Linked DNA regions of Homo sapiens: all the other regions are linked to region 3. Evidence: promoter capture Hi-C in 16 types of primary human blood cells and fetal thymus (Javierre and others, 2016). All regions are on one chromosome and are shown on one strand. The core of a region is centred on a gene start or on the middle of the fragment in contact, and the rest is flanking DNA. Distances in the headings are between cores, read along the strand shown. Region 1 has its middle 42 kb from the start of DOCK11. Region 2 overlaps LONRF3 (LON peptidase N-terminal domain and ring finger 3). Region 3 holds the start of IL13RA1 (interleukin 13 receptor subunit alpha 1). Region 4 overlaps WDR44 (WD repeat domain 44). Region 5 overlaps WDR44 (WD repeat domain 44).

Evidence for each region. Contacts are between HindIII fragments. The CHiCAGO score rates a contact against its expected background, and 5 or more counts as called.
Region 1: a fragment that was not itself captured here is called in contact with the fragment with the promoter of IL13RA1 in region 3 in 2 of 17 cell types (neutrophils and total CD8 T cells); the score reaches 8.4 in neutrophils.
Region 2: a fragment that was not itself captured here is called in contact with the fragment with the promoter of IL13RA1 in region 3 in 1 of 17 cell types (monocytes); the score reaches 5.8 in monocytes.
Region 4: a fragment that was not itself captured here is called in contact with the fragment with the promoter of IL13RA1 in region 3 in 2 of 17 cell types (total CD8 T cells and total CD4 T cells); the score reaches 5.8 in total CD8 T cells.
Region 5: a contact is called between a fragment that was not itself captured here and the fragment with the promoter of IL13RA1 in region 3, in 1 of 17 cell types (neutrophils). The highest score is 5.8, in neutrophils.

What each region holds. Positions count from the first base shown.
Region 1 is chrX:118,451,543-118,456,070 of GRCh38, forward strand. No RefSeq gene overlaps it. Among named protein-coding and RNA genes, the nearest start is that of DOCK11, 42 kb to the right of the region's middle. The HindIII fragment of the contact is 3,040 bases long and covers 1-2,780 here.
Region 2 is chrX:119,016,166-119,020,763 of GRCh38, forward strand. It overlaps LONRF3 (LON peptidase N-terminal domain and ring finger 3), which reads left to right. Exons shown (of 11, transcript NM_001031855.3): 11 at 1,370-2,190. The coding sequence ends at 1,525. Among named protein-coding and RNA genes, the nearest start is that of LONRF3, 44 kb to the left of the region's middle. The HindIII fragment of the contact is 4,253 bases long and covers 1-3,692 here.
Region 3 is chrX:118,725,134-118,729,322 of GRCh38, forward strand. IL13RA1 (interleukin 13 receptor subunit alpha 1) reads left to right here and starts at 2,473. Exons shown (of 11, transcript NM_001560.3): 1 at 2,473-2,593. The coding sequence starts at 2,506. RefSeq lists a silencer at 2,082-2,511. The HindIII fragment of the contact is 2,975 bases long and covers 862-3,836 here.
Region 4 is chrX:118,398,292-118,402,860 of GRCh38, forward strand. It overlaps WDR44 (WD repeat domain 44), which reads left to right. Exons shown (of 20, transcript NM_019045.5): 8 at 96-179. Among named protein-coding and RNA genes, the nearest start is that of MIR1277, 14 kb to the left of the region's middle. The HindIII fragment of the contact is 5,488 bases long and covers 1-4,569 here.
Region 5 is chrX:118,366,806-118,371,319 of GRCh38, forward strand. The region is part of intron 1 of WDR44 (WD repeat domain 44); the gene reads left to right. Among named protein-coding and RNA genes, the nearest start is that of MIR1277, 17 kb to the right of the region's middle. The HindIII fragment of the contact is 3,070 bases long and covers 630-3,699 here.

The DNA of each region.
Region 1 (4,528 bases), core at 11-2,510, 270 kb before region 3:
CACCATGCCCAGCTAATTTTGTATTTTTAGTAGAGATGGGGTTTCTCCATGTTGGTCAGGCTAGTCTCCAACTCCCGACCTCAGGTGATCCACCCGCCTCGGCCTCCGAAAGTGCTGGGATTACAGGCACGAGCGACCACGTCCAGCCAGAAACGCTTTCTAGACATAGGGATTTCATGGACACACAGCATTTTAGGGATTGACATAGGGCACAGACATTTTTTAACACTTTTTTAACAGACACCATCTACTATCCCCACTTCATAAAAGATAAAACATTTTAATGCTAAAAACATAGGCCAAGCACTATCACATAATCTTAGAGCAACCAATAGTCTATTAAAATGAATACACTTGACTTTTGAAATAAGTAATTATATTCCCTTATTTTTCTTACGATACCATGTTATATTTTTCAATTAAGGAACCAATATTGGTATAATTAACTAAACTCCACGCTTTATTCAGATTTCACTAGTTTTTACCCATATTTGGTCATCATGTGTCCTTAGACCCCTCTTAGCCGTGACAATTTCTCAGACTTTCCATGCTTTTGATGACCCTGATAGTTTTGAGGAGTACTGGTCAAGTATTTTGTTGAATGTACCTCACATTGGGTTTGTCTAATGTTTTTCTCATGATTCAGCTGGGGTTGTGGACTTTAAGGAAGTGAATTGCTCTTTTCATTACATCACATCGAGGGTACGTTCTTATCACCTGGCTGAGGTAGTGTCCATCATATGGGCACAATTTAAGCAATCCATCAAACATTCAGGTTGTGCCTGTTTTTTATCACTGTGAATAACAATCAGAGATAGAGAAATATATATCTTGTCAGAATTTCCAATTATTGATCGAAGGTGGTAGGTCCTTAAAATGAAAGTACAAAGCATGAACTCTTAACAGTAAGCACCAGCCTGGGCAACATGGTGAGACTCCGTCTCTACAAAAAAAAAAAAAAAAAAAAAAAAAATCCAGACGTGGTGATGCATGCCTGTGGTCCCAGCGAACAGGGAGACTGAAGCAGGAGAATGGCTTGAGCCCAGGGGGTCGAGGCTGCAGTGAGCCATGTTCACACCACTGTGCTCCATGTGCTCCAGCCTGAGCAACAGAGTGAGACCCTGTCTCAAAAAAAAAAAAAAAAAGAATAAGCGATGTATGAATTACAAGAAATTCCTGCATAGAAATTGGGAACCCCAATTTGTAGTCCTGGTTGTGGTGGCCTTGTGACTTCAGGAAAGATAAGTAGTTCTCTGCAAGTCTATTAAAATGAAGTCCTTGGACTAAGATTTCTAACTCTGATGGTCCATGTGGTCCATGTGCTTGCCGGCAGTCCTTCAGAAACAGTGCAGCTGAGGATTTCCTCACTTTCTCATTCATTTATTCAAATTCCTGCTGACATAACTTGTGATCTTCTGTGGCATCAGAATGGCACAATCAGTGACTGAGTTCTACTCCTAGAACATCTAATTACAAGATCGGTATATTGAGAAGCATTTTCCCTGATTTTTTTTTTCTCAAAATATGTTCATCAACTGGATCAGTATACACTGTCTCCTCTAGGTGGTACCCAACATTTAAAATACTGCAGTGTATATTATTTGGATAAGAAGACCAAAAGCATAATTTAAAATTGCTAGGAGAAAATGCCTTAGATTTTCACCATCCCTACTTGGAGAGGGGGAGGAACATTGCAACAGATGTCAGTGCTTTGCTTCTCTTAGGACCAGAACCAAACAGAAAGGGGACCAAGAAGCAAGAAAGAATTGCGCTATTCTATTGAACCTCTGAGCAGGTTGCAAATATTAAGTTTTTAGTGAACCATGAAACCTAAGTTGTTTACAAAACAAAGTGAAGCAGTGCAAATTAGAACTGAATCTGTTTTCTAAGCCTAGAACATTAGTAAAAACTCAACTATTGGCTGGGCACGGTGGCTTACACCTGTAATCCCAGCACTTTGGGAGGCCGAGGCGGGTGGATCACCTGAGGTCATGAGTTCGAGACCAGCCTGGCCAACATTGGTGAAACCCTGTCTCTACTAAAAATACAAAAATCAACTGGGCATGGTGGCACGCACCTGTAATCCCAGCTTCTCAGGAGGCTGAGGCAGGAGAATTGCTTGAACCCAGGAGGCCTCTGGAGGTTGCAGTGGGCCGAGATGGTGCCACTGCACTCCAGCCTGGGCGACAGAGTGAGACCTCTGTCTCGGGGGGGAAAAAAAACTCAACTATTTTAAGTATGGCCAAAGTGAACTTAAATTGAACCTACCCTTGTTAAGTCAGAGTCCTTAATTAGGACAGTCTTCTCTAGAGTGAGTTTTGCATGAGGCAAAAAAGAAAGGCACACTTGGTCAGAATGAAGCTCTGTGTGTGGCAAGAGCAGGAGTGATGAAGTGGTATGGCAGCGAGAGGTACAGACAACTGGAGAAGCAGCAGCAGCTGGGACGGACACAGGTGGCAATGGGAGTGGAAGGTGGTGGGAAGCCTCAAAATCCACAGGAGATCAAGTTGAAGCAGATACAGAAGAGAATCATTCCACTTTATTGATTATTATGGAGTGATTTCACCCATAGAATACGTGTGAAAGTCAATCACAGGTCCTTGTAAGTAATGTTCAACAAATATTTGATCTGAATTGAGTCTGCTGCAGTGCATACAACAATATGAAAAAGAGTAATTGAAGAGACATTGGAAACTGACTTCCTTGGGTCAGTTTTTGCCTTAACATGGTCATTCACTAATCAGTCGAATAAACCGTTAGATAAACCATTAAGTCAGCCAAGCTTCCATGCACCTTCATTAGGGAAAGGAGTTATTTTAAGCTTATAAGCAATTCTATGAAAGCTTTCACTCTTGTGCACTAACGTCAAGAGCAGGATATTTTGTTTTTCCTTTTTCCAAGTCATCTCCTTTCAACCCCATGGGGACTTCTAAAATTGTGGTCTGCTATGCCTTCCTCAGAAGCACCTGGGAATTAGTTTAACGTGCACTGAATCACAGTCTGTTGGAGAAGGGATGCAGGAACCTGTTTTCAACAACTTTAAGAATCCCTGAGCTAGGAATAGAAGTTTAAGCAGCTAACTCATTCAGGTAAAGGCCAAGAGACAGACAAGTAGGGTCACGAATTGCCCAAGGCCTACAGCCAGTGGTGTACTAGTAAATGTTTCACAGTCCACCCTCCAAAAAAAACCAAAAATAAATTTGTAATATTTGCTAATTTCCATGGTGTAAATACTCCCACGGTGGCCAATTTTAAGCTAACAATGTGACATCACCTAACATGGTGCACTGTAGCACTGTTACATAGTATTTGTACCATAAAGATACAATAAATCTCAAGATCATAAATGGTAGTACAACATAGTAAAATAATCAGGAAGTGATGAGTTTTTAGTAATTATTACCTGTATCTTTATTATAACTTCATTGTAATATTGATTTAAATTACGACTGTGTTTAACAAATGGCTTGCAAATTTTAATGATCACCTCTCACCATTACCTGAAAACATTCTTGAAAAAGACACACATCCCTCCTTTGGCCTGTGGACTAATCAGAGCACATGAGCAATCTCAGAGAACCTGCCATGTGTCAAGTGAGGAAGGAGAAGTGTTAGGGGAGGCATTGTTTACGGATGGATTTGGCCAGTAATCAACAATCAGGAAGAGCTATTATTGTGTTCATTCCCTGGGGCCTATGTGGCCACACAGAACCAAGTAGGCAACTTAGCCTCCTCATTCAGAGGCTTGCCCTAGAGCCTGAGCTAAGAAAAAAGACCACGGGGAATGCACTGCAGCCCACAGGCAAACTGCCTTCTGCATCTTATACATACTCTAGCCCAGGATTTCTTCAGCACAGACGACCTGCATGAAGTTGTGCTTAAAATGTAATGTCTTGGCCAGACGTGGTGGCTCACGCCTGTAATCCCAGCATTTTGGGAGGCTGAGACAGGCGGACCATGAGGTCAGGAGATCAAGACCATCCTGGCTAACAAGGTGAAACCCCGTCTTTATGGCCAGGCGCAGTGGATCACGCCTGTAATCCCAGCACTTTGGGAGGCCGAGGCGGGCGGATCATGAGGTCAGGAGATCGAGACCATCCTGGCTAACACGGTGAAACCCCGTCTCTACTAAAAATACAAAAAATTAGCCGGGCGTGGTGGCGGGCACCTGTAGTCCCAGCTACTTGGGAGGCTGAGGCAGCAGAATGGCGTGAACCCGGGAGGCGGACTTTGCAGTGAACCGAGATTGCGCCACTGCACTCCAGCCTGGGTGACAGAGCAAGACTCCATCTCAAAAAAAAAAAAAAAGAAAAAAAAACCCGTCTTTACTAAAAATACAAAAAGTTAGCTGGGCGTGGTGGCACGCCCCTGTAGTCCCTGCTACTCAGGAGGCTGAGGCAGGAGAATCGCTTGAACCCTTGGAGTGGAAGTTGCAGTGAGCTGAGGTGGCACCACTGCACTCCAGTGTGGGCGACAGAGCGAGACTACATCTCAAAAAAAAAAAAAAAAAAAAAAGGCCTGGGCCCCA
Region 2 (4,598 bases), core at 316-2,815, 290 kb after region 3:
TCCTAAAACCAAACTTGTGAAAGTTGTGGGCAGAAAGCTCGTTTTAGGCTTAGAAGGAAATAAGTACCCAATGTCTAAAATATGTGCCAGGGAAGCTGCTTTGGGGAAGGATTTATGTGGAATGGGAAAGCTCTTTATTAAAAGGAAATCTAGGGGCAGAATATATTTCTTTCTTTCTTTCTTTCTTTTTTTTTTTTTTTTGAGACGGAGTCTTGCTCTGTCGCCCAGGCTGGAGTGCAGTGGCATATCTCAGCTCACTGCAAGCTCCGCCTCCCAGGTTCACGCCACTCTCCTGCCTCAGCCTCCGGAGTAGCTGGGACTACAGAAGCCCGCCACCGCGCCCGGCTAATTTTTTGTATTTTTAGTAGAGATGGGGTTTCGTCGTGTTAGCCAGGATGGTCTCGATCTCCTGACCTCGTGATCCACCCGCTGGCCTCCCAAAGTGCTGGGATTACAGGCGTGAGCCACTGTGCCCGGCCCTGGGGCAGAATATATTTCTAATGTGAATGTTTTCTAATTGGAATTTTTGCAAAGTGAGATTGTGATTCTTTGGGACTGTAAATCATAGCCTTTGGTTTCAGGGGAGAAGAGAGCTATGGCCCTGTATAGTGACATGGTATACATGGACTATTGCCTTCAGCCACATCAAGGAAATGAGGGGACTTAAAAGACATGCAAAGGTCAAGGGGTCATGGGAATCGAAGGCCTGAATGTTAAATGCATCAGTCCAAAGGACCTCAACAGAATATTAGAAGTGGAAGAGACTACATAGTAGATACCAGCTTGTAAAATCACATTGGCTAGGAGGCATGGTGTATCTGTTAGGATACTGGTTGGTTTGCTTTAACAAGAAACAAAAATGACTGGAGCTTAAACAAGATGGAGGGGCTAAGTCTTGGACAGTTAGGGCAGCTCTATTCCACAAGAGCATTCAGGCACCCAGGCTCCTTCATCACAAAACTCTACCATCCTTAAAATGTCTCCCTCATCCTCTTGATTGAGAAAGGCTGATCCTCACCACGTCCATGTTCTAGCTAGGGGAAAGGGAGAGAAAGAGGAAGGCAGAGGGCATATGCTTCTTTCCCAGAGCATGACCAAGAGGTTACACATATCACTTCCCTTTACATCTCATTAGCCAGAACTTTGTCTCATGGCCTCACCTAGCTGCAAGGGAAGCTGAGAAATGCAGTCTTTTTTCTGGGTGGCTATATGCCCTGCTAAAATAAGGGGGAAAATAGATATAGGGTCAATTAGCAATCTGCCACATGGAGTTGTTCTACCTGGGGTCTTTACCTTGAGCATTTGGAACTCTGCAGACTGATGTTCTTGGATGGGAATAGGATGACTCCATTGTGTTTCTCTGTTGCAGATGAACCCGAATGGCCCAGCCTGGTGCTGGTGGATGTTAGCAGTTCTTCCCTTGGAAAGCCGAGCTCAGCTCCCCTTCCTAGCAATGAGGTCCTTAAAGGACAGACTGAATGGTATTCGACGAGTCCTGGCCTTCATATCCCGAAACCAAAACTAGTGAGTGGATTGCCGAAGAGGAGCTCCCACCTTCCCCACTGCCGTCGGGGGGAGTCTTCTTGTAAATATATCTAATTGCAATAATATCTTAACAGAAGGGGGTGTCAAACAGAGGCATCAGCCTGCTGTTGATCACAGAGAGAAATTGAGTAGAAAGACCAAAAGAATGTGACCTATTTGAAACTTTCTGTCTTAAGATGCTTCTTGACATGCTGCATAACTACATAAACAGCAGAGGTGTTTAAGAGCCCAGAAAAACATAATTTGATTTTAACATTAAAATTTCCAAAAGTTTAAAGTGGTTTTGCTTTAATATTCTTTCTTTCATAGATCAATGACTGTGTGGTTGAAATGTGAAAACAAAGATACTAATAATGTTGCTGTATAATTTCACTGACTTGAGGTCTCATTCCAAATGGTTCAGGTTTTATAGAGCATTGTGTAAAATAATGTTCATACTTCTTTCTGTTTTAATAATTTATTTTTTGCACTACTGTATCCTTTTTTCTACATGTATGTTTGTAACTATTTAAGCGTACATTGCTGAAAAGTCCATTGCTTTATTTATTGATGTGGTTTACCATGTACCTAGGGGGAAATAACAATACTAGAAGTGTGCAGTTTTTGCTTTTATCTTTTTTTTACTACAATGACACTAGTTCTTAGACCATTTCCGTATCTATCCAAATGGATGCTTAAAAGAAGTTCAGAATGATGCTAAGATCATCTGTCTTCAGAGTCCACTTTTTTTTTTCAGTTTGAACTAAACAATATAAAATACTTAAGGGATTTGGCCTAGATTATGGTATATGCCAAGGTAAAGTAAAATAATTCATTTTCTGTGTGTAATACAGAACAAAGCTGAAAGAATTATTTTTATTATAGGCATTTACTTCAGCAATCTAATTGTACGTGTATCTAATTTTTCCCCAGTGCAGTTAGGAATCGGATTTTGGGCAGGATCATAATTAACTCTTCAGAGGAAATGGTGTTCAGTTTAGCACATCACAGTCATGCCCAACTAGCCTCCATAACCCACCTCTCCCCGGGGTTCTGAGGATCAAGACCTGGACAGAAACACTTGATAAGGACTTTTTATTATTAAAATGTAAATAAGACAAATAGAGTAGAACCCTATAAAAATCTTTTTAAAGGAACCAGATGGCCGGGCACGGTGGCTCACGCCTGTAATCCCAGCACTTTGGGAGGCCGAGGCAGGCGGATCACTTGAGGTCAGGAGTTCGAGAGCAGCCTAACTAACATGATGAAACCCTGTCTCTACTAAAAATGGATACAAAATTAGCCAGGCTTGGTGGTGTATGCCTGTAATCCCAGCTACTTGGGAGGCTGAGGCAGGAGAATCACATGAACCTGGGAGATGGAGGTTGCAGTGAGCCGAGATTGCACCACTGCACTCCAGCCTGGGCAACGAGCAAACCTGCGTCTCAAAAAAAAAAAAAAAAAAAAAAAAAGGGAACCAGATAATCTATTATTTTACCTAAGTACTGCCTTTGCTTCTAGTTGCATGGGTGAAATATTTCAATGTATGGGGAGAATATAGGGTGAGGAGTAAGAGTAAGCCCTGATTTAGCTTGCTTAGTGCTAGTTTGAGTCCTTCAGTGGCAGGACAGCCTGTAAAGTACCACAAGTATGGGAGTGTTATAATGGCAGAGTGAAACGATTAGAGCAGGGAGGAAGTGAATTGTGCCATTAGTACCTTCATGCAAATTATACCATGTGATTTTGGACAGTGAATGATTTTTGCATCATTCATTCACAGCCCATCACTCTGTTAAGGTGAGAGTGTAATTCTTACTTCTCCCATCACCACCTGTAGCTAGAAACAGGAAAGGGAGAATGAGATGATCCAGACAACATAAAAAAGATGCATGTAAGCAGAAACCAGATGGTCTTTTCTGCACTCACTTAATGGACATTATGTTGCCAGAGTGTTGTGTTTATCAGATTTGATGTTTGGAGCTAGTCTGGGCAGGTGAAGAACAGAAATAGGCGGAAGTATAGGCATTATTTCTGCGCAAGCAAACTCCACAAAGCTCAGGGAGCAGAAAAGACTCCCCCTCCCACCTGGTTCCCAGACCATGTGGTCATAACACAATCCTAATAGTTTCTGGTTATCTAGTGTAAATGCAACAAAGAAAAAGGCCCTAAGCTTCTCTACTTATTAGATATATTATTTTTGGCAATTGATTTAACTTTTGCCAACCCTCAGTTTTCTAATCTATGAAATGATAGTGATAAGTTCTGCATATAGGGTTGTTACGAAAATTAAATGAGATAATGTGTAAATCAATTAGCACAGTGTCTCACACCTAGAATGCACTCAAGAAATAATAGCTACTATTAGATTAGTCATAGTTATAGAATATCATCAAGGGCCTACATTTGTATAAAACACTGCCTTTACACACAATATCCACTTGAAACCCCTTTAAACTTAGTTGGGGGAATACATACCACTGATTTTTGGACCCATAATTTGATGATTTACAGATAATTCTTTTGGGAATTAAATGTGTGTGAAAGTGAAATAACTGGAGAACAAATGAGGGTCAGAGATAGGGATCAATCCTATACCAGAAATTTTTTTCCTGCTTCAATAAGGGCTAGAAGGTAGTGCCCTATGTAGGTCTAGGATTTCTTTCTTCCTTCCTTCCTTCCTTTCTTTTTCTTTTGTTCCCTCCCTCCCTCCCTCTCTCTCTCTTTCCCTCCCTTCCTTCCTTCCTTTCTTTTTCCTTTCCTTTCCTTTCCTTTCTTTCTTTTGTGTGTGTGTGTGTGTGTGCGAGTCTGAGTCTCACTCTGTCACCCAGGCTGGAGTGCAGTGGCTCGATCTCAGTTCACTGCAACCTCCGCCTCCCAGGTTCAAGTGATTCCCTTGTCTCAGCCCCCCAAGTAGCTGGGATTACAGGCACGCACCACCACGCCTGGCTAATTTTTGTAGTTTTAGTAGAGATGGGGTTTCACCATGTTGGTCAAGCTAGTCTCGAACTCCTGACCTCAGGTGATCCATCTGCCTGGGCCTCCCAAAGTGCTGGGATTACGGGCGTGGGTGTGAG
Region 3 (4,189 bases), core at 1,223-3,722:
AATCACACTACACGGAGATTACAAATACAAGTTTTATGTTGAAGAAACAGCATTCCTGACTCTTTCCACCCCCTTCCAAAAATTTGAAAAATCGTTGCATGATGTTCAGGGTCGGGAAGAAAGGAAAGTAACAATATAGTCTTAAGGCCAGCAGGCCGGAACTATCTTGGTGAAAAGAAATCAGGTCTCTCCCCTCTCCACACTGCCGTTTGTTTTTTTTCCTCACGATGTTCAGATTCTCAGGGCTTTTCTGGAAGCTCATGACAAGCTGCAATCCCTATTTTTCTAATCATTTGCTACCATTACTGTTTTATTAAGCGCTTGGTCAATCTATGCCAAGCAGTGCCCATGATGGCACTCAGCCAGTCCCCAGGGGCTCCTGTTCCAACTAAAGACTCCTTAAAAGGCAGATGACATAACCATTTTGGAAACGTTATTATAAACTTATTGTATAATGTTTATAGCAAATGTCAACAAGTGTATATGTCCGTGGTGGTGGAGGAAAGGCCTTGGGATACACAGTGGCTGACCTATTTGTGGGAGGGATTTAGAAATAATGATACTATCTCTCAGTTCTACAGGCCTTGATACTTTACAAACTGTTTTCATAAACATTATTTTGTTCGATAACACATGCAAGCCAGGATTTATTTTTTTTTTTTTTGAGAACGGGGTCTCACTCTGTTACAGACCCAGGCTGGTTTTGAACTCCTGGGCTCAGGTGATCCTTCCACCTCAGCCTCCAGAATAGCTGGGATTACAGGTGCATGCCACCATGCCTGGATTCTGGAATTTATTCTGAACCGTTAGCCAAAAGAATCAACATCCTGAGATTCAGCACAGGCAGGCCCTCCTCCTGGAAGCTTCCCTTGCTCCTTCCCTCCCAAAAGGTACCCTTTTTGTATCCCATAATTCCTTGTTCTTGCCCTTATCATTGCCCCTCAGACTGACTGCAGCTTTCTGTTAGCAGAGCTTGCTTTTGGTGAGTGTCTTCAACAGTTCCTGGAACAATTTCATAAATATTTATTGAGTTTGAGAGCCTTAATTCCAAGAGTGGAACCTTTGTTGTGAATAGGTTAAACAACCCTGTGCCCTTTGGGTGGGGTCTAGACTAGGTATATTATCAGCATTTTTATTGCTATACTTTTTGTAACTGTTTTCAGGTATATGCATTGGCTTAATTCGGCCAAAATACACCTCATTATGGGTCTCATCATCCACCTAGACATGATTCTTTTTTGGGAGAAGGTGATAGAATAATGTCCCCCTCCCATGATTCCATATCGTGATCCCCAACACCTGTGAATATGTTAACTTACATAGCAAAAATGACTTTTCAGTTATGATTAAATCAAGGATTTTGAGATGGGGAGATTATTATGAATTATCTGGTGGACCTAATCTAATCACAAGGGTATTTATAAGGGAAAAGGGGAAGTAAGAGGGTCAGAGTCAGATACGACAAGGGAAGCAGAGGTCTGAGTAGTTCCGCAACAAGCCAAGGAATGTGGGTAGCCTCTAGAAGCTGGAAAAGTCAAAGACACAGATTCTCCCCTAGAATATCCAGAAGGAATACATCTCTGCCCACACCTTGATTTAAGCTCAGTGTCACTTCTGACCTCCAGAACTGTAATAAAATAAAACTGTTAAATCACTAAATTTGTGGTCATTTTTGACAGCAGCAACAGGAAACGCCTAAGGACTCTTGTTTTCCTTCCTCCCAGCCTCACTGACCCTCATAGGCGCCCAAGTATCAATGTGTATTCTTCCGATTCACCTCCCATCCCTTTGAAAAATATGTAGAAAGTTTGTCGTGTGCTTTAAAAAATGCACGTATGGTATCCTCCCTCATGTTTGGAATGTTCCTTTTAAAATCAACATTATGTATTGCCAGCTTTCAAATATGCCCTTTGTCCTTTTCACAAAGCACAGTACTGCCAGTGTCCCCAACTCCACCCAGTGAAGTAGGGCTGGTATTACTAACCCTGGAGTCAGCGCTAGCAAACAAGGGCTCAGAGGTCAAGGGCTGGAAGCCAGGTCTCCAGACTCCCAGGCCAAGGCTCTTTTCCGCAGATGACTCTGTCCTGGTGTCCAGCAGGGCACAGCCCCTAGCACCTCCGAGGCCCCGCAAGTGTGCTGGCAGCGGCGACGCCGGCTCCGCCACGCGGAGGGAGGAGGCCCAGGCAGCGCCCGGAGTGGGCGGCGACGTGGTGGAAGAAGTTTTGTTCGGTCAGAGACCGGACGCGGGAGCTGCGGGTGGGCCAGGTGTCCAGCCTTGGGAGCCGTAGGAGCCGCCAGAGCCGCCAGAGCCGCCGGCGCCCCGCCCCGCCTCCTCCGGCCGCTCTCGCCGGCTCAGGTTACCTGAGGCCGGTGGGCGGGGCGGCCCTTCCCGTCTGCGCCGGCCCCCAGCCTCCAGGGCGGCGGAGCCGGGAAGTGGAAGAGGGAGCGAAGGAGGCGGGGACTGCCAAGGCTCCAGCCCGGCCGGGCTCCGAGGCGAGAGGCTGCATGGAGTGGCCGGCGCGGCTCTGCGGGCTGTGGGCGCTGCTGCTCTGCGCCGGCGGCGGGGGCGGGGGCGGGGGCGCCGCGCCTACGGGTGAGTGCGACCCTCGGGGCCCGAGGGGCGGCCGGAGGGCTGAGGGCGGTGAGGGTCACGGCTGAAAGGCCCCGGAGGTCAACGCCGGGCGGAGGGCCGAAGCTGGGGTGGGTGCTGGGGGCTGCCCTCGCGAGGCCCCGCGCTCGGCGGCTGCGGCTTCCCGCGCGGGATCTCTGGGGCCCGGTACTGGGGCCGGTTCGAGGTGGGACCCGGGAGCTGCGGGGTTTTCCCGAACTCCGGGTGCGGCGGAGGTGGCGGCAGCGAAGTAAGAGGGCTGCGACTTGTAGTGGGAAGAGCCCAGGAGGCTGGCGTCCAGGCGTGCGGGGGCGGGGGGCCCGAAACATGCCCACGGCGTCAGAGGGCCGTGGGTCAGCGCCCGGAATGTCGCCTGTGAGCCCGGGAGGAAATGAGGCGCCAGAGCCGGCGGGGACCACGACCGAAGTCCAGGCGAGCTGAGAACGCGCCGGGGCTCTTTGCCCGAGGCCGCGCCAATCCTCACTGTCTAAGGGTGGCTCTTGCGAGTGGAAGTTGAAGGGAACCTCTAAACATCTCAGTCCTTGTTGAAAAAGGACGTGACGCTCATGACCTCCTCTGGCGTCGAAGAAATCCTTTGGGAAATCCAGAATAGCATCCCGGCAGATGCTCCCCCCACCCCACTCTCTTTAATAAACCTTATATTTTAGGGTAATTGTAGATTTATGGAAAAGTTGCAAAGATACTTCAGAGAGTTGTGTATATCCCTCACCCTGTTTGGTAACTTCTAGTTAATCAACCTGGCAGTTGTGAAAAATTGGGAGTTAATGACTTCCTTAGGAGCAGCTCCTGGAAGGAATGGCCTTCTGGACGTTTTTGGTGACAATGAAAGCCCCAAACTGTATAGGTTTTATTATCACATTGACACAAACACTTATATATGCTTATTGCATTTTTACCAATGTGCTTTGAAATCCAAGTTGAAATGTTGATTAGGAAACCTTAATGCCCTCTATGGATTCAGTCAATAAAATACATGCTGCCAGGCAGTGTTTAGGGGCTGAGGATGCAGCAGTGAGCAAAACAGATGAGGTGCCTGCCCTCAGACATATCGGGGGGTGGGGGTAAAATATATGATATGTCTGAGGGTGTTAAGTAGAGAAAAACAGAGCAGGTGGGAAGGGGTTTGCCATTGTAAAAAGGGTGGATCGAGAAGAAAACAAATGTTGCTGAAAGGTGGCATTTGAGTAGAGACCTGAGGGAGACTTGAAGCTTGTCAGTCAATAATTATTCAGGTGTCTGCCTTATTTAGTACTGAGTCAGGCCCTCTAGGTTGACTTAGAACCTGAGAGTGTATAGCAAAATTCTTGCCCCAAAAGGGCCTCTAGTTTAGTTGGGTACACCTGATTTCCGTAATCATATGGGGACATTGCAGTCCAGAGAAGGGAAGGAACTTGTCTAAAGTTACCCGTCTCATTAGTCTCCTGATTTTCACAGTGCCACTCCAGCACCCTCCCTCCTACAGACTCACTCCCACACACACCTGAAACAACAGCTGGCCATCTAGAGAATACTGGCAACTCCCAACTTCATCAGTCCTGTCACAATGGTTTGTCGTTAGCT
Region 4 (4,569 bases), core at 1,474-3,973, 330 kb before region 3:
TTATTCTGATTAACTGGTTATATAGTAAGTATAAACAGATTTTTAAGAAGTATAGAAGAAATGGCTTCTTTTAAAACAACTTCCCCTTCTTACAGTAATGACGCGGCACAGTCAGATGATGAAGAGAAGTTACAGTCTCAGCCAACAGATACTGATGGTGGAAGGTTAAAACAGAAAACGTGAGTTACAGTACATCCCTTTTCTTCATTTCAAGTTTTTATTTAAAAAAATATGAGAACTACCATACTATTTTAAATCATGCTCCATGTAGTTTTTATGTCTACCCACCACCATTCCTCCCTGTCCCTCGCTGATGGGTTATGAAGTTGTATTGATTAGTTTTAAAGCATCTGGGCTGGGCGCAATGGCTCACGCCTATAATCCCATCACTTTGGGAGGCCAAGGCAGGCAGATCTCCTGAGATCAGGGGTTCAAGACCAGCCTGGCCAACATGGTGAAACCCCATCTCTACTAAAAATACAAAAATTAGTTGGGCATGATGACAGGTGCCTGTAATCCCAGCTACTTGGGAGGCTGAGGCAGGAGAATCACTTGAACCCAGGAGGTGGACTCCACTGCACTCCAGCCTGGGCGACAGAGCAAGACTCCCCCTCAAAAAAAAAATGGTAATAATAATAAAGCATCTGACATACAGAAAATGACCAGTAAGTGTTGCACCATACTTGTGTTATTTTTCTACCAGTAGGTAGGTACGAAAAGTGTTAGTAGAAGAACATGATTGTCCTTGAAGTTGTCTTTTCCCTTTCTCTTTATCTCTGCAATCCTATTTGTCTTTCTAAACCCAACTATAATGAGATTCCTCCTGACTACTACAGTCCATGGCAATTTTCTTTCTTTTCTCAATTTTGGGAATACCTGTAGTCTATAACTTACTTTTTCCCTTTACAATATGTTATCTTAAACTGTTTTCAGACAAATACACATTAAACAATCAAAGCGTATGTTGCAAAAGGATTCTGATTATGCCATCCTTTGTTTCCCCTACAAACTTCTAGATCAATGGTGGGCCTGTACATTTTGTTTGATTATACACAAGTCACTAAATTGATAATAATTAACTCTAAGGTCCAAAGTGAATTATCCACTTGAGTCCTTTTCCTAGTGTGTATCAAAGAAAGCATTGAGAATTTTTAGGAAAGATGTACCTAAAATGCAGGCATATGATAGCACCTTAGATATTTGGAACTTGGCCATCTAGTAGTTGCAGTTATTGGGAACCTGAGAATAAGGAATTACTACAATTATTCTGGGACAGATAAACATCCAGAAGAGATGTCACATAGTCCATGCACTAAAGCTCATTATTTTTCTAAGAGAAAAGTTCCTCAGGTTTATTCAAAGCCATTATGCTTATTTCTTACATCATTTTTTTTAAAACTCTGTTCAGTGTCTGAGCTTACTGCAAAATAGAAGCAGCAAACTGTGACAACATGTAAGTTGACACATAAGAATGTCAGGTAATCAGAAAAATGATAAAATAACTCATAATATAGGTGGGTGCAGTGGCTCACACCTGTAATCCTAGCATTTTGGGAGACCAAAGTAGGAGGATCACTTGAGCCCAGGAGTTTGAGAGCAGCCTGAGCAACACAGGTAGACTCACTCTTTACCAAAAAATTTTAAAAATTAGCCAGGCATGGTGGCACACACATGTGGTCTCAGCTACTCAGGAGGCTGACATGGGAGAATTGCTTGAGCCTGAGGGATCGAGGCTGCAGTGAGCCGTGATCACACCACTGCACTTCGGCCTGGGTGACAGAGCAAGACCTTGTCCCCCACACCCCCCACCAAAAAAAAAAAACTCATAGCACAATCATTGTACCACAGTGCTTTTCAACCTTTTCTTATGCCATTGACACACAGAGAACATAATAGTATTTGCACTGAATGTTGGGGTAAGCTGGCCATCAGCTGATGGCCAGAGAAGATTGGCCCAGGCTTCCCTGGGCCCTGCCCTGTTGCCTTGAAGGCTGAGTGGGGAACCAATAGTATGGCCCACCTGCAATGCATTAGAAAGGCTCTGAATGTATTAAAGAACCAAAATGATGGTAACGATCTTATCCATCAAGGAATGAAATTTAGGGAACATTAAGTGCCATTTAAGAAGGCATAAAAGTAGATACTTTAGAACTATTACCATCTGAAATAATTAAAATGTCTGTTTTCTTGGCTTTTAAAGTGGTAGTAAACTTATAATTATCCAGAAAATACAGCTTCAGAGTTATAGGTAGCAGAGACCTTATAATGGCTTTAAAAATGGTTTATCATCTGTGTTTTCTGGTTATCAAAAGAAATACAGAAATATGTAAAATAGAAAATGAAAGTTTCTCATAATCTCAGCCCCAGAAATCAGTTTTGTTTTTTTTTTTATTATACTTTAAGTTTTAGGGTACATGTGCACATTGTGCAGGTTAGTTACACATGTATACATGTGCCATGCTGGTGCGCTGCACCCACTAACTCGTCATCTAGCATTAGGTATATCTCCCAATGCTATCCCTCCCCACTCCCCCCACCCCACCACAGTCCCCAGAGTGTGATATTCCCCTTCCTGAGTCCATGTGATCTCATTGTTCAATTCCCACCTATGAGTGAGAATATGTGGTGTTTGGTTTTTTGTTCTTGCGATAGTTTACTGAGAATGATGATTTCCAATTTCATCCATGTCCCTACAAAGGACATGAACTCATCATTTTGTATGGCTGCATAGTATTCCATGGTGTATATGTGCCACATTTTCTTAATCCAGTCTATCATTGTTGGACATTTGGGTTGGTTCCAAGTCTTTGCTATTGTGAATAATGCCGCAATAAACATACGTGTGCATGTGTCTTTATAGCAGCATGATTTATAGTCCTTTGGGTATATACCCAGTAATGGGATGGCTGGGTCAAATGGTATTTCTAGTTCTAGATCCCTGAGGAATCGCCACACTGACTTCCACAATGGTTGAACTAGTTTACAGTCCCACCAACAGTGTAAAAGTGTTCCTATTTCTCCACATCCTCTCCAGCACCTGTTGTTTCCTGACTTTTTAATGATTGCCATTCTAACTGGTGTGAGATGATATCTCATAGTGGTTTTGATTTGCATTTCTCTGATGGCTAGTGATGATGAGCATTTTTTCATGTGTTTTTTGGCTGCATAAATGTCTTCTTTTGAGAAGTGTCTGTTCATGTCCTTCGCCCACTTTTTGATGGGGTTGTTTGTTTTTTTCTTGTAAATTTGTTTGAGTCCATTGTAGATTCTGGATATTAGCCCTTTGTCAGATGAGTAGGTTGCGAAAATTTTCTCCCATTTTGTAGGTTGCCTGTTCACTCTGATGGTAGTTTCTTTTGCTGTGCAGAAGCTCTTTAGTTTAATTAGATCCCATTTGTCAATTTTGTCTTTTGTTGCCATTGCTTTTGGTGTTTTAGACATGAAGTCCTTGCCCATGCCTATGTCCTGAATGGTAATGCCTAGGTTTTCTTCTAGGGTTTTTATGGTTTTAGGTCTAACGTTTAAATCTTTAATCCATCTTGAATTGATTTTTGTATAAGATGTAAGGAAGGGATCCAGTTTCAGCTTTCTACATATGGCTAGCCAATCCAGAAATCAGTTTTAATAGCATGGTGTATTCGCCATAGAATTTTTTTTTCTCGTAAAAGCGGGGCTACTCTATGTCTATAGTTTGTCAACTTGCTGTTTTTTGTTTTTTTTGTTTTTTTGGTTTTTTTTTAGAAAATCAAATATATCATAGACATCTCTTTATATCAGCACTAATAATATATATATTGTAGTCTTTCTGAGAGCCAGATATGAGAGTTAAGTGCTTGGGATATAACAGTTAAGACATTAAGAGGCCAGGCGTGGTGGCTCATGCCTGTAATCCAGCACTTTGGGAGGCCGAGGCAGGTGGATTACCTGAGGTCAGGAGTTCACGACCAGCCCGGCCAACATGGTGAAAGCCCATCTCTACTAAAAATACAAAAAATTAGCTGGGCATGGTGGTGGGCGCCTGTACTCCTAGCTACTCGGGAGGCTGAAGCAGGAGAATTGCTTGAACCCAGGAGGCAGAGATTGCAGTGAGCTGAGATCATGCCTTTGCACTCCAGCCTGGGCATCAAGAGTGAAACTCTGTCTCAAAAAAAAAAAAAAAAAAAAAAAACATTCAGGATGGGTGCAATGGCTCATGCTTGTAATCCGAGCACTTTGGGAGGCCAAGGCAGGTGGATCACTTGAGTCCAGGAGTTCAAGACCAGCCTGGGCAACATGGCAGGACCCCGTCTCTACAAAAAATACAAAAATTAGCCAGGCATGGTGGTGTGTGCCTGTAATCCCAGCAACTCAGAAGGCAGAGGCAGGTGGGTCTATTGATCCTGGGATGTCAAGGCTGCAGTGAGCCAAAATCATGCCACTGCACTCCAGTCTGGGCAACAGAGCAAGACTCTGTCTCAATTAAAAACAATTTATAAAAAAGACATTCGTGGTCTCTGCCTTCATAGAACTTCTGTTAAATGGGAGAAATAGGCATTAAACATGTAATTGCACAGATAAGTCTAGCTACAT
Region 5 (4,514 bases), core at 915-3,414, 360 kb before region 3:
AAATGGTTTCGGCCGGGCGCAGTGGCTCACGCCTGTAATCCCAGCACTTTGGGAGACCGAGGCGGGCAGATGACGAGGTCAGGAGATGGAGACCACGGTGAAACCCCGTCTCTACTAAAAATGCAAAAAAATTAGCTGGGCGCAGTGGCGGGCGCCCGTAGTCCCAGCTACTCAGGAGGCTGAGGCAGGAGAATGGCGTGAACCTGGAAGGCGGAGCTTGCGGTAAGCCGAGATCACGCCACTGCACCCCAGCCTGGGCAACAGAGCAAGACTCCGTCTCAAAAAAAAAAAAAAATGAAATGGTTTCTGGGATTTGCTTCAAAATAATCTGGCAGAGGGGTGGAAGAGGAGTACTGATATTTTTATCATTGTTGAACATGATCAACATGTTGTATATTTGGGTTTATAATATTATTCTCCCAATTTTGTATATATTTGAAATAGCCATAAGTAAATGTTGGAAAAACTCCCCCTAAATATTTATTGTCACATAGATTTTTACTGGCAGATTTGGGACTAAAACTCAGGTCTCCTGATTCTGCTCTTTTTTTGTGTGTGTGTAGCTAAAATTATAGCTCTTGTACTTTCAGATTGATGTCATGTTGTCCTTTCAGTCTCTGGGACCCCCAAGCTTTCCCTGAGAAATTTGTGGTAGTACTTGTAGATAAATTAAGGCCTTACTAAAGGGTCACAGTTTCACTTGACTGGCTACCTACCTATGTGAAACCATAAGGGACATTAGACTTACTAGTGTAGAGAGGCTGCATGGGTTATTAGAACCAGCAAAGAAACTTGGGTCCTAGTCTTCACTAGGCCTTAGCATAAGTTCTAAGATGGCAGGGACCATGTCTGTTTTGTTCACTACTTTATACTCAATACCTGGGACCATGCCAGGTACATGGAAACAATCAGTAAATGTTGAATTAATGGATTAATTTAACCGATGGCATAATTTCCCTCACATGTAAAATGAGACAGTTGATCTAAATGATTCTTAAGTTTCCTTCAAACACTGAAAAAAAAAGTACTCTTGCCTTCTGACTGATTTTTTTAAAATCCTTTTAGGATTTTGAAAAGGATTACTGTAAATTTCTTTAACACTAGGTGACATCAGTAGGTAATATGCTCACTTTGAATAACTGTTATAGAAAAACCACAGTTGCTATATTGCATCAAAATCTCTTTAAAAATAGACTACTGTTATATATTTTCTGTTAGATTGGTATTTATTTCTATAAAGTACATGCATACTGTTCTCAACATACTAAATTAGAGAGTCAGGTTTAGCAAGTTCCAAAGTGTAGCCATCTAAGAAGGTTACTAAAATGTTCCCTTTGCTTGCATACTTGTGCTTTTTGCTTCAGTTGTATTGAATGCAGTACTATTATGTCAGAGTTTATAAAGGATTTGACATTTTGCTTCCCAAGGAAAAATCAGTGGGCAACTTTTGGTTAAGTGGCAGTTATTGTCATCGCATCAGTGACTAGGCTCCTATCATTGGGAGTAATGACCTTATTATGAAATTTTGCTTCAGGTATCTGTAGGTTATCGCTGAATCAGGTCAGAGTTTGTAAAAGAAAACTAATTCCTATACCGTTTTATAAAATCACCAGAACAGTGTTTTGAAGCCACATACATGTTTTGAAATAGTGACTATATATATATATATATATATACTTCTTGAGGACCTTTCCGCATTCCTCCAGCTCCTTCTGAAGCCTTGTCTTGGCTGATACATGGATGTTGATGACCTCTCTTGTTGCTTCTCCCAGCAGTGTTTACCAAGGGCCTTTGGGAAAGGTTTGCATGACATCACAGGGCAGCTAGAGGGGAGAAGTGTTGGGAGACTGGAAAGGCCTCTGTGTGATGCCACTAATCATATGAAGTAGCAATCCACATACTCTTCCTTTTTTTTTTTTTTTTTTTTTTGGAGACAGAATCTTGCTCTGTCACCCAGGCTGGAGTGCAGCGGTGGATCTCGGCTCACTGCAACCTCTGCCTCCCGGGTTCAAGCGACACTCCTGCCTCACCCTCCTGAGTAGCTGGGACTACGGGTGTGCACCACCACACCTGGCTAATTTTTTTTTTCTTTTTGTATTTTTAGTAGAGATGGGATTTCGCCACATTGGCCAGGCTGGTCTCAAACTCCTGACCTCAGACAATCCACCCACCTTGGCCTCCCAAAGTGCTGGGATTACAGGCATGAGCCACCATGCCTGGCCAAAAATAATTTCTATAATTAAAATGCTAAATGAATAGGGACTGGAGAAAGCATGTAATAAACTATTTTATATTCAGACATGAGCTTTGTTAATATAAACTAAATGTTAGCTAGTGTACTAGTGTATGAAAATAACTTTCTTTTTTATTTTATTTTATTTTTTGAGACAGAGTCTCACTCTTTCACCCAGGCGGGAGTGCAGTGGCCCTATCTCGGCTCACTGCAAGCTCCGCCTCCCGGGTTCACGCCATTCTCCTGCCTCAGCCTCCCGACTAGCTGGGACTATAGGCACCCGCCACCATGCCCGGCTAATTTTTTGTGTTTTTGGTAGAGACGGGGTTTCACTGTGTTAGCCAGGGTGGTCTCGATCTCCTGACCTCGTGATCCGCCCGCCTCGGCCTCCCAAAGTGCTGGGATTACAGGTGTGAGCCACCACGCCCGGCCTTTTTTTTTTTTTTTTTGAAATGGAGTCTTGCTCTGTCACCCAGGCTGGAGTGCAGTGGCGGGATCTCGGCTCACTGCAAGCTCCGCCTCCCAGGTTCACGCCATTCTCCTGCTCAGCCTCCCGAGTAGCTGGGGCTACAGGCGCCCACCACCACGCCTGACTAATTTTTTGTATTTTTAGTAGAGATGGGGTTTCACCGTGTTAGCCAGGATGGTCTCAATCTCCTGACCTTGTGATCTGCCCGCCTCGGCCACCAAAGTGCTGGGATTACAGGTGTGGGCTACCACGTCCAGCCGAAAATAACTTTCTAATAGAAAACAGGATATAATGCATTAAAATGTTCTATTTATATTGAAAGTTGCTGAAGTACTAATCTTAAAATTGCCTTTATATTCAAAACCTAAGTGGAAGACACACTAAATAATTTTAGTATTTGATCTGTAAGCCATGTGGGTTTTTTAGTAGAATATCAGTACTTATTTGAATCAGAATTTATTTTGAAGCTGTTTCAGACGTTGCTTTTTGTGTTTAAATTCATTGGCAGCATTGATAGACACTGTCTTCAATTTCAGAAACTATGCTGCAAAATCAAAATTTTGCTGTTTTTGACATTAGTCTAGGCAATGATATTTTGGATTTAACCCCAAAAGCACAGGCAACAAAAGCAAAAATACACAAATGAGATTGTGTCAGACTAAAATTGGTCTGATAAAATTGCACAGCAAAGGAAACAACAGTGAAAAGACAACCTACAGATTGGGAGAAAATATTTGCAAAACATATGGTTTAGATGTTTTGTGCCCTCCAATTCTTATGTTGAAATGTGACCTTCAGTATTGGAGGTAGGCCTAGTGGGAGGTGTTTCAGTCATGGGGCAGATCCCTCATGAATGTCTTGGTGCTGTCCTCACGATGAATGACTTCTTGGCCTGAGTTCACGCAAGATCTGGTTGTTTAAAAGTGGGTGGCATCTCCTCCCCCACTTTCTTCCTGTCTTGCTATGTGATGCATCCCTTTTGCATTCCATGATTGGAAGCTTCCTGAGGCCCTCACCGGGAGCAGATGCTGGTACCATTCTTCTTGTACAGCCTGCAAAACCATGAGCTAAAATAATAAACCTCTTTTTTTTTTTTAGACAGAGTCTCGCTCTGTCGCCAGGCTGGAGTGCAGTGGCGCAATGTCGGCTCACTAAAACCTCCAATTTCCTGGTTTAAGGAATTCTCCTGCCTTAGCCTCCCTGAGTAGCTGGGATTACAGGCACGCAGCAGCACACCAGCTAATTTTTGTATTTTTAGTAGAGATGAGTTTTCACCATATTGGCCAGGATGGTCTTGATCTCCTGACCTCGTGATCCACCCGCCCCATCCTCCCAAAGTGCTGGGATTACAGGCATGAGCCACCGTGCCCAGCCTAAACCTCTTTTTTTTTTTTTAATAAATTACTCAGCCTTAGGTATTTCTTTATAGCAATGCAAATGGACTAACACACCATACATCTGATAAGGGATTAATACCCACAGTATGTAAGGAATTCAAACAACTCAGTAGCCAGAAAACAACCCAATTTAAAAATGGGCAGAGGACCTGAACAGACATTTCTGAAAGGAAGACATACAGACAGATGGCCAACACACAGTGGAACACTATTGAGCCTTAAGAATGGAATCATGTCATATGTGGCAATATGGATAAACCTAGAAGACATTATGTTAAGTGAAATAAACCAGGCATAGGAAGACTACTACTGTATAATCTCACTTGTATGTGGAATGTAAAAATGATGAACTCGTAGAAGCAGAGAGTAGAATGGTAGTTTCCGGGGGTTGGGGGAGTAGGGAGCAGCTGAGGAA